Linked DNA regions of Homo sapiens: region 2 is linked to region 1. Evidence: promoter capture Hi-C in 16 types of primary human blood cells and fetal thymus (Javierre and others, 2016). All regions are on one chromosome and are shown on one strand. Each heading gives the region's core, a stretch centred on a gene start or on the middle of the fragment in contact. The rest is flanking DNA. Distances are from core to core; before and after follow the strand shown. Region 1 holds the start of ARHGAP31-AS1 (ARHGAP31 antisense RNA 1). Region 2 has its middle 5.1 kb from the start of LRRC58.

Region 1 (5,402 bases), core at 932-3,431:
CCTTTTAAGTAAAGTATAGCACCTTCATTTAGCCATTCCGCTGATCTGCAAACTGAGAGACCAAGAGACCTTGGTTTATTCAAAATTGGTTCTCTGTTTTACTAAAAGGAGTCGTCCATTAAAAGTTATGCTCAATACTAAATACCAGTTAGAATAGATACAACTGTGCTGCCTTCACCTACACTAAGGGCTAGGGGTTGAGAGTAGAGAAAGACTCCTCTCCCCACTCTTTGTTTTTCCACGTCTATCCTTAAACATTCTTTGAGGATCTGATTCTCGAAAGGGTTTTTGTTGTTTATGTTTGTTTGTTTGTTTCTTTTAATAGCTACAAATCTCCTTGGGAGGGACAAGGAACCTTGATGTGAACCACATGTGGAATACAGCAATGGTACCCAAGCTTTTTGGATTTCACAGATCAAGTTTAAAAGATTTTGGGGGATCTACCTAGGACTGCTAATTTTTTATTTTTCTGAGAGAGGACATCAACCAACAATAACTATCGTATTTCATAACAGAATGGACAATTCAAAATAACTAAAACTATGAAGCATATAGTCTTAGAATAAAGAATTGTCCTGTTCAAGAAAGGACAAGTGTAACCTTAAAATTGTTATAATACATCCGGATAAATTTATTACATAGATGGCCCTACATTTCCTATGGGTCTGCGGTTGTGAGCCACTGTTCTAGACGGCTAGGAGGGTTTGAAGTGAGTTGAGAACCTTTACTGTCCTGAAGATGGGGTAGGGGCTAGACAAGGGTATATTCTAAAAAGAGGAAAGCGCTACTGTAATAATCTTGCCTAGGATTACATACAGATGGGCATAACAGAGTCCCAGGACTTCACCCCTTCGGTGTAGAGCAGGGATGGCAGGGATGGCAAGAGCCCCACTTAGGATACCTGGAAAAAGAAATCTCCGCAGCAAAGGGTCCTTGTGCTGACTTTTCTTTTTCATTTACGAGTGTACCCTCTGTCTCCTTGGGGGCCCACCTTCTTATTCCCAGCAGGAAAGGGGAAGGGGGAGGACAGGAAATGTGGAAACCGCGTTAACAGCCTGATTGTGAACCAGCACTGCGACTGAGATGCGAGGAGGGAAGGACAAAAGTCCCTCCCTCGCTTTTCAAAAAGTAAGCCACAAAAGTTATAGAAACATTTTCTATTAAACATCATCTCCATTTTGCAGAGAACCTAAGGCTCCGAGGACTTGCCCAGGGCCATACAGCCGGTGAGCCCCAGGGCTCAGCCACAGCCCAGGTAACGAGGACAGGGCTTGCTCCAGCCACCATTGGCTGCCTCTTCGGCCTCCCTCTCTCAGGTGAGACAGTATGTCAGGTGAGGCAACTGAAACAATGTCCCTCAGTTCGGATGCATCCTCCCTCTTCGTTTCCTGTCATGAGACAGGTTTCTCCTCTTCCTGGATGTGGTTAAAAAAAAAAGAAGAAGAAAAGAAACAAAAGAAAAAAGGAAAGAAACGCAAAGCAAAGCCAAGCCCAACGTCTTGGCTCTCAGGGTTGCACCTCCTTTCTCTACCCGCGGGGTCTGGGCCGGCGGGGTGTGGCCGCAGCCCTGGGGCGCGAGAAGCCCATCCGGGCCCGAGGTGCTGGGCGGCCTGGAGCGCTGGCTGCCCCCAGGGCCGGCGGCTGTCCCTGGGGTTTCCCCGCTTCTGGGCTTTCCCCGCTTCTGGGCTCGGTGGCCGCGCGGGCGGGCGCCAAGTGACTCAGCCGTCCCCGAGGGCGTTCCGGGAAGCGGCCGGGGGCGCGGGCTTTCCTGTCGCCGCAGCGTGTGAGTCCCCAGCGCCGAAAGGGGATCAGAAACCGCTGGGCGGAGCAGCGGGAGGAAGCTGCGGCGCGCAGAGCAGAGTCAGCGCCACCGTCTTTCGAGCTGGAGCGGAGGGAACGTGGCCTTGACGTTGCTGAAGCTGAAGCGCCGGGCGGGCGCCCGGACCCCGGGGCGGGGCAGAAACGAGTCCGTTCCCTACTGCGGGGCGGGGGCAGGGCTGGAACGGGAGTTCAGGAGGGACAAGGACGTGGAAGGAGCCCAGCAGAGGGCACCCGGGACCCCCGCGGCCGGGCCGAGTTTGAAGGGAGCCCCTCTCCCCCTCCCCCTGGCGGAGCCCCCTGTAGGGTCTGACCTGGTGCCCCGCAACAGGAGCGGGAGGAGGAGCAGGCCCAGAGCGGCCGGGCCCCAGCCTAGAGGGGCGCTCGAGGGGAAGCGAGTGAAGTGAGGGCTCCGCCAGAGCAGCACCCCCTTCCCCGCCGTCCCTCCCGGACTGGCCGGTTCTCGTCAGAGATTCCTTTGTCTTCGACGCTGGTCCCTCCACACCAAGGTGGGAGGCTGAGGTGGGAGGTGGCAGAGCGGTGGGAGTGGGAGCAAGGCCGGAGCGTGGGTGGAGGCGCTGGCCGCGGGCTTGCAAGGATGGCACAAGGGAGACATCCAGGACAAACCATGGGGAACACAGCTGCCACTGAGAGAAGCTGCCCGGAGGAGGAAGGGGCTGCAAAGTTCAACCACCAGGCAAGGCAAGTCCACGAACAAAATCCCGGCTCTAAAAACAGAGCAGCAATTGTCACTGTGGGTTAGACGCTTTGAGTTACCTCTATTTTCATTTATGTCTAAGATAAATTCAAGAGACAAGGAGAAAGTCAGGAGGTTAAAATTCCAGCCTCTGGTCCCAGCTCCCTAAAGCCAGCTCCCTTCTTGTCTTTGCCAAAGTTTGCTTCTATGAATCAGTAATTAACCCCCACTTTTTTTCTTATGTCAGAGTTCCTTCAGTCACAACCAAGAGAGTTCTGACTAATAACACACCTTTTAATCCAGCAATTTTACTTCTGGGAGTTTATTCCAAAGAAATATTACATAACAAAAGAGCCATATGCCTCACAATATTCACTGTGGGCTTGTTCATAAAATTAAAACAATCATAACTATAAATGTCCAGTAATGGAGGCAGGGAATAAACTGGCATATTTATATGATAAACTACTATGGGCCGGGCGTGGTGGCTCACGCCTGTAATCCCAGCACTTTGGGAGGCTGAGGCGGGCAGATCACCCGAGGTCAGAAGTTCAAGACCAGCCTGGCCAACATGGCGAAACCCCGTCTCCACTAAAAATACAAAAACAAGTTAGCTGGGCGTGGTGGTGTGGGCCTATAGTTCCAGCTACTTGGGAGGCTGAAGCAGGAAAATCACTTGAGCCCGAGAGGTAGAGGCTTCAATGAGCTGAGATCGTGACACTGCACTCTGGCCTGGGCAACAGAGCGAGTCTCCGTCTCAAAACAAAACAAAACCTACGGAGCCTTAAAATGTTATATGTAGGGTTTTATAACTTGAATAAAGACTTCGGTTATAAGAAAGCAAGACACAAAATCATATATATATATAATATATATATACACACACACAGTGTAATCACAATATGAAAATGTACATAGAAAAAAAACACTTGAAGGAAATCCACCAAAATGTTACATCTTTGGGTGATAGAATTACATACAAGTATTTTTTTCTTTCTAAAACATTTATGTATTTCCCAATTTATCTACAATGAGGATAAGCATGTATTATTAAAAAGTATGAAAACATTGATTTTAAAATTTTACATATATAGTATATAATTATATATACATAATACATATATATATACTATATATATATATATAGTATATATATATATGTGAAATTGCTGCTGAATAGGAAATCACCGGGCCTGGGTGAAAGATGATAAAATTTACTTGAGCAATTTTTCCACTAATTGAATGATTTTTCTGCAATTTAAAAAGGGTATATGGAAGTTAAAGAGGATGGGTCAATGTTTATACATCTGTATTAGTTCGTTTTCACACTGCTGATAAAGACATACTGGAGACTGGGCAATTTACAAAAGAAAGAGGTTTAATGAACTTGCAGTTCCACATGGCTGGGGAGGCCACAAGTCATGGTGGAAGATTAAAGGCACTCAAGAGAAGAGAGAGCTTTTGCAAGGAGACTCCCGTTTTTCAAAACCATCAGATCTCGTGAGACTTACTCACTATCACAAGAACAGCCCGAGAAAGGCCTGGCCCCATGATTCAATTACCTCCCACCAGGTCCCTCCCACAACACGTGGGAATTCAAGATGAGATTTGGGTGGGGATACAGCCAAACCATATCAATGTCCAAGATATTAGTGAAAGGGAAGGGCATGCCACAGTAGGCCAGAGGAGAGAAAACATCTGAGTTTTAGAATACACAAAAAGAAAATGATGAGATCGCAGCTGATTCTTGATTGGTGAGGACTTGCTGGTTTGTGGGCAGAAGTAATGGAACTTTTAATGGCAAAGGGAAGAATACACTCAAACATTATTTAAGATAGGAGGTAAGGGAGTAATGGGTAAGGTTACTGCATCATGAAAAGTTTTGTTTACAATGGGTTTACTGTATTTATCAGGATAATATTTTTTAATCCTGAAGAATAGGTGTGCAAAATGAATTTAACATCTTCACATTTGGCCCAAGGTTGTTGATACCAGTATTATTATCTTACCTTAGCAATAGGATGAGTATGCTTATTTTGGGTTGGAAAATGCCTAATGATCATGTAGCCCCTTATTTGGGGCCTATTCCTCTTCTATAGGGAGGGAAGGAAGAATATCAAGAAAGCCTCATGTCTAAGTGCCCTGTATCCCTGGAGATCTTTATGTAGCAGCAGAGAATAGACACTGATAAAACCAAGTTTCGCTAGTTTGAGAACTGTTCAGTCTTGTGGGAGGATCTGGTAGAAGGGAGAATGCAGCAATATCCTTCAAGTAATACTACATACCATACCTTGAACAAGGAATGTAGCATAAACTGGTGAGGACCTGTGTTATGATAAAAGGCAAAGCTTTTGCTCTGGGATTGAAATCTAGGACTCTCTGTGGGGTAGATGTAGAATTTACCAAGCCATACACAGAGAGGTGTGGGTCTGGGCTTAAGGAAATCTTGGGTCATTCCAGTTCCCCTCCCTTGATTCTTCCCCTGCCAGGGGAGATCCCTTGCTGATCTCACCTTGTGTGGGCTTTTTATCATTGTCCCTCCCTCACCTATTGAAAGCTGTACACGTTTTACTGGGAATGAAATGGGAGGTGTCACTAGGTTGAGGGTCAGACACTGGACATTCGTGGATTCACAGCCTTCCTCTAACAACTTGACCATCTCACCAACCTCACCACCCTGTTTTCCAATCACTGGAATAGATTATAGGGAAAGAGGGGGAACCGCTCATGGTTCTTTTTAGACTTTTAAAATTAAAGTCTGTTAGAGCCAGGGGATATGATGCTTCAGTACTAGGAAAATGTTTGGTTATCTACAGATTCTTGTTGATTAAATGAAATAAGCGCAAATGTTTGGGTTGGATATGACTGTGTTGGCATCTAGATGGAA
Region 2 (5,402 bases), core at 1,293-3,792, 1.0 Mb before region 1:
TTAGGGATAAGCATGGTTTGTATCTCCTGTTTGAAGCCTTTTCCATTACCCTGGAGGCTCAAGTTCAGCAGTGGCCAATTCTTTATTAGGGAACCCTTCTCTCTCCAACCCCACAGCACATGGGTTACATCTGGGTCTGAGCTGGGTTGACCTAGTCCTGACACTCAGCACAGTCTAGGTAAATGATAGAGAAGGGTTTGAAGGAACGCTTCCCTTGGTAAAGAGACTTATTACAACAGGGTAAATAAGAAGAAGACAAGAATAGGAGGCCTGTTGCTGGGAATGGGTGCCAGAGGCAGCTTCTCCCTAAGTTCCTCACCCCATCAGACTATGAATGAAGCAGTTAGTTCCTGGTTTTGCATCTCCAGGTCCTCTCAGTTTCTCAAATCACTTTTAGTGGCTGAGTGAAGGAAACAACTATGCAGTTTCAAAATAAAGCTATATCCATTAACACAACGTATTGAAGAATTTTTGTTTTGGATTTGTTGTTTAGCCCTGGTTTTGTTTTGGTTTTCTCAAGAAAACAACTGGAATATAACGGAATGAAATAATTATGACCAGTTTGTGTCACTTCTCGAATTCATACTATGGGGGCTGAGGCTTGACTTACATTTGACTTTCACCTGAAGCAGAGGAGGAATATCTTGATGCTAGCACAGTATTGAGAAACCATGAGGAATACTTTGTACTCAGATATAAGACTATTTCTACAGGTGCCACAATCCACAGACTCTCCCAAGCCTTGCAGTCTTCGTGAAAAGACTGCAAGGCTAATAAAGAACACAAGTTAAGGAAATGGGATCTGGAGCTTCCAGTGAGGGCAGAATCAGAGGTGATCTCCTACCTAGTATTCATACCTCTTTCTCCAAGGCCTAGACACACCTATCATTTCAAAGTCTACTACTCTTCCTCTGTGCTGTATCTTAACAGTACACCTTAGATTTTTGGGGGCAAAGTTAAAATTTTAAATATTTTCTCCCATAATTATCTAAAGCATATCAATATTTGTCTATTCTAACCATCAGCACTAAGCATGCCAACCAAACCAGACCCCTTACCATTTCCCAAATATATGCTATAATTTTCTCCTTTTTGCTATGCTTTGTAAGAAATATTTTCTTTTTTCCTTCAATTTTGTATATTTCATCCCAGCTCTATCCAAATCCCATTGTCCTCTGAAAGCTATCCTAACTGTGGTAGCCTAAATGGTCTTTTTCCTCTGAACTTTGATAGCTTTTGGTTATGTTTCTGTATGAGTTACCAAATGTTATTTTATATTTTAGTTACTTTGGGTTCATGTTTTTAAAAATAACTTTATTGATATATACTTCATATATTTTCCTATCATACAATTTACTTACTTAAAGTGTACAGTTCAATGATTTTTTAGTAGTATATTCATAGTTGTACAACCATCACCACAATGAATTTTAGAACAATTTCATCCTGCCAAAAAGAAACCCTGTACTCATTAGCAACCACTGCCCATTCTCCCTTCCCTCTAGCTCTCGGCAACCACTAATCTACTTTCTGTCTCTAAAGATTTGCCTATTTTGGAGGATTTCATATAAATAGAATCATACAGTAGGTGTTCTTTTATGACTGGTTTCTTTCACTTATGTGTCAGAATAATGTTTCCAAGATTCATCCATGTTGTAACATGTATCAGCACTTCATTTCTTTTTGTTGCTGAATAATGTTCTATTGTATGTAAATACCACATTTTATTTATCCTTCATCAGTTGGTAGAGATTTGGTTTGATTCTATTTTTTGACTATGATGAAAAATGCTGTTATGAACACTCATGTGTAAGTTTTTGTGACGACGTATGTTTTCATTTCTGTTGGGTATATACCTGGGAGTAGAACTGCTGGATCATATGGTAACTATTTTTTTTAACCTTTTGAAGAACAGCCAGACTATTTTCCAAAGTGGCTGCACCACTTTTTCATCCCCAGTATTGGTCTATAAGGGTTCCAATTTCTCTACATCTGCACCATCACTTACTAGCTGTCTTTTATATTTTAGCCATCTTAGTGGGTATGAGTAGTAGCTCACTGTGATTTTAATTTGTATTTCCCTGATGGCTAATGATGTTGATCACCTTTTCATGTGTTTATCAGTGATTTTTATATCTTTTTTGGAGAAATGTCTACTCAGATCTTTTGCCCTTTTTAACTTGGATTTCTTTATAGGTTCATGTTTAATCTCTGTTACCAGACAGTAAATCTCTTGAAGGCAGTGATTGTATTTGAACAAAATCATGAACATTTTACTATGTTGTTATCCAGCACACCATAAATATGTGACTTGGCAAGTTAGTTAATTTTCCCACATCTCGGTTTTCTTGTCTGAAGAATGATGATAATAATATGTACCTTATAGAAGGGATGTGAGGATTAAATAAAAATAATCCCTAGACAGAGCCCCTAGGACAGTGCCTGGCACTTATAAAATAACCAATAAACATTACCTATTATTCTTACTAGTTTTTATACCTTGCAATATATAGTACAGTTTCTTACACACAGTAGGTACTCAATGTCTATCTGTGAATGAATTAGGGATTAAAATTATTTTAGCTCATTTATAGTTGTAGTTATGACTAGCTATCTATGAAAAGGTCAAACAAGCCAATATGGAACCAACATAAGCTGAGCAAGTGGATAAAATTTAAAAGATAGTCACTTCAACTCCCAAAACAATCAATAAGGAAAACACCGCACCGGGTCTAAGATAAACCCCTAAATGGAGTGAATTCAACGGGAGTAGCCATGAAGATGCTTTTATAGCTCTAACAAATGCTTAGTCAAAGACTCCAAAGATATCCAAAGATGTCATTATTTGAATCTTCAAAATAAAAGGGACTAAACTTCGATAAAGAAGCCCGGAGACATATTTCAGGAGACATTTTAATCTATCAATTCTACAGCAATAGCAAACTGTGGCAGAGGAAGAACTGCTGAAAATCAAACTGCTAGACCTTATATCACAAAACTGGCTGAAGACTTACTCTTGGTCCCTATAAATATAGAAGCCAACTCCTCCTCAGGATCGATTGAAAGACTATAGCTCCTTCTACTTTCAATGCTGCCCTAAACATAGAGTAACCGGTTTTTGAGATTTGGACAATTGGCAGGGAGATGGCAGAACTTTAAACCATCCTAGGCCAATATGGATAAACCAGACTGAGAGGGATTTAGCAGTGGAAATAAATCAAAACCTTGCATGCTAGCCTAAGCAACTGGCCTTCATCTGATAAGCAATGAGGAAACATGGGGTAAAGGCAGGAGGAAAAGAGATGGGTTGAAATCATGAAAGCAGTGCTTTAGAAAGGACAGTCTGAATCAGAGGTGGCTAAAATAAAGGTAGGAGTGGGTTTAGCAGGCATGAGGTCCTGATATACCTTGAAGACAAAAAAGACAATAAGCATAAATCTTGGGCAAGAGAGGTCAGACCAACCTCCCAAATCCTAATCCCTAAGACACAGAATGGCCCAGAGCAGAGGACCATGGTTTATGTAGGAAATTGTGCAATCATGAGTAAAGACTGTTCTCAACTTTGTTTTTCTACCCTGATCATGATATAACAAGTGGCAGAGAGCAATAGTTATAACATTAACTACTATTACAGCTAATAATAATAATTGCCACTACTTACAGAGTATTGACTTTGTGCTAGGTACTATGCTAAGCACTTTAGATTTTCACCTTACAATGACCCTATGGAACAGATAATATATTTTATAATACAGATGATGAAATCAAGCCTTACAGAAATTAAGTAACAAAATCAAGATTAAGTAAGAGAAATCTGATTTCCAGAGGTGGGTTTTGAAACCTGTATCTGATAAAAACCAAAGCCCACTCTTTTAACTGCATCAGTATGCTGCCTCCTAACTAGAATGGTTTATGAAAGGATTCTCTACTTAGATTATTTCTTGTTTTTTCTGCAGTCAGTAGGTCAATAGGGCCTATTTAAGTAAGGTATGTCAAAAACTATTCATGCATTTATTGCGTTCACTCACTATTTGCTGCCTACGATGTCTTGGGGGATACCATGGTAAACAGATGCAGTTCCTGCCTTCAGGAAGCCTAGAAAGGGTAGCTGAAGGAGGAGGAGAATTCATTTGGTCTCCTAAATGTCCAATACTATTCCAGTCAAGAGACTTATCTTGAAATGTATTCAATTGGCCAAGCCTGACATAATGGTGAAGTTCTGATAAGTGGACAAACAGGCCATGTACTTTCCCAGTTCCCTGTAACCCATGTTCCTTTCCCTATGTAACATATTCTGTTGTCTCCTCTGTCCTTTACCTTCTCCAGTGCCTCCACTCCCCTCTCAGGCATCTCTTTCAGCTAGCCACAGATGAACCCCATCACTGTGGGGGTTCACAAGCCACCACAGCTCTTTTACCTCCCAGAAAGTTTTCAGTATTCTCCAGGCTGACTGGAGGGTTTCAAGGGCCACTGTAAGATTGGGGGATGCTGCTTCATTTAAACCCATCTGGCTGCAGTGAAAAGAGATACATCCACGTTAGCTAAGATAGAGAAGGGTTATTATACTGGGCAGTAAGAAGATGCTCACATTTAATCCAGCTGTTAACAAGTTGGCCTCAGTGAAGCTGCACCTGGTGCGTTACTCTGGATATGAGGCAGTCCTAGATTTCAGCAGCAATATTTTATGAATCTTCACACTTATGTTTCACAATTGACAAAAAATTAGCGACATTCCCCATGTCTGCTTCTTTCTGATTCAACTGTAATTTCTTTCTGATCTGCCACCAACTGGAATTTCCCTCTGGGTTCTTTGGATTAAATTCCTGGGCGAGTGAGAAAAAAAAATAATCTCTGCTTCTGTTTGGGCAGTGCCTTATAAGTGACAGGCCACCAGGCAGTCTGTTGATGGGCTTACCTTGGTCAGATGTCCACTATGGCTCCGATCAACATAGGTTCTAAAGTGACGTCATATGATACAAGGACAGCACCCCAAATTATGTTTGGTTCAGGTGCCTCTGCTCCAGTTTTGTGTATGAAGCCCACAAAACCCCCAATCCTTAAGACAAGTGCCGTATAATTCCAACAATCACAATATTTCAAAGTACCATCAATGGATAGATGCCACTTGTAATACTGACACTATTTGGAAGATCTTATTGCTTTGAATCATTTAAAACAAAAAACAAAAAAAACTAAGCTCAAGAGAGCAGTGTAGTGTAGTGGAAAGAACATAGACTTTGGAGCCACACAGCCCTAAGGCTGAATTTCTAATTAGCCTTTCACTCTCTGTGATAGCAGACTTTACTCATCATTTTTGAGCTTGAGTTCCCTCATTTCTAAAATGCGGATAAACATTCTTATTTATAAATGTGGCGATAAGTAGAATTACATTTTTTAAGGTT

The links. The method cuts DNA at HindIII sites, captures the fragments that hold promoters and counts their contacts. A CHiCAGO score of 5 or more calls a contact.
Region 2: a contact is called between a fragment that was not itself captured here and the fragment with the promoter of ARHGAP31-AS1 in region 1, in 1 of 17 cell types (non-activated CD4 T cells). The highest score is 6.1, in non-activated CD4 T cells.

What each region holds. Positions count from the first base shown.
Region 1 is chr3:119,319,539-119,324,940 of GRCh38, reverse strand. ARHGAP31-AS1 (ARHGAP31 antisense RNA 1) reads left to right here and starts at 2,181. Exons shown (of 2, transcript NR_046748.1): 1 at 2,181-2,327. The region is part of intron 1 of ARHGAP31 (Rho GTPase activating protein 31); the gene reads right to left. RefSeq lists enhancers at 796-1,652, 1,653-2,510 and silencers at 1,474-1,823, 1,874-2,233. The HindIII fragment of the contact is 4,466 bases long and covers 400-4,865 here.
Region 2 is chr3:120,351,794-120,357,195 of GRCh38, reverse strand. It overlaps the pseudogene BTNL12P. Among named protein-coding and RNA genes, the nearest start is that of LRRC58, 5.1 kb to the right of the region's middle. The HindIII fragment of the contact is 8,642 bases long and covers 1-5,402 here.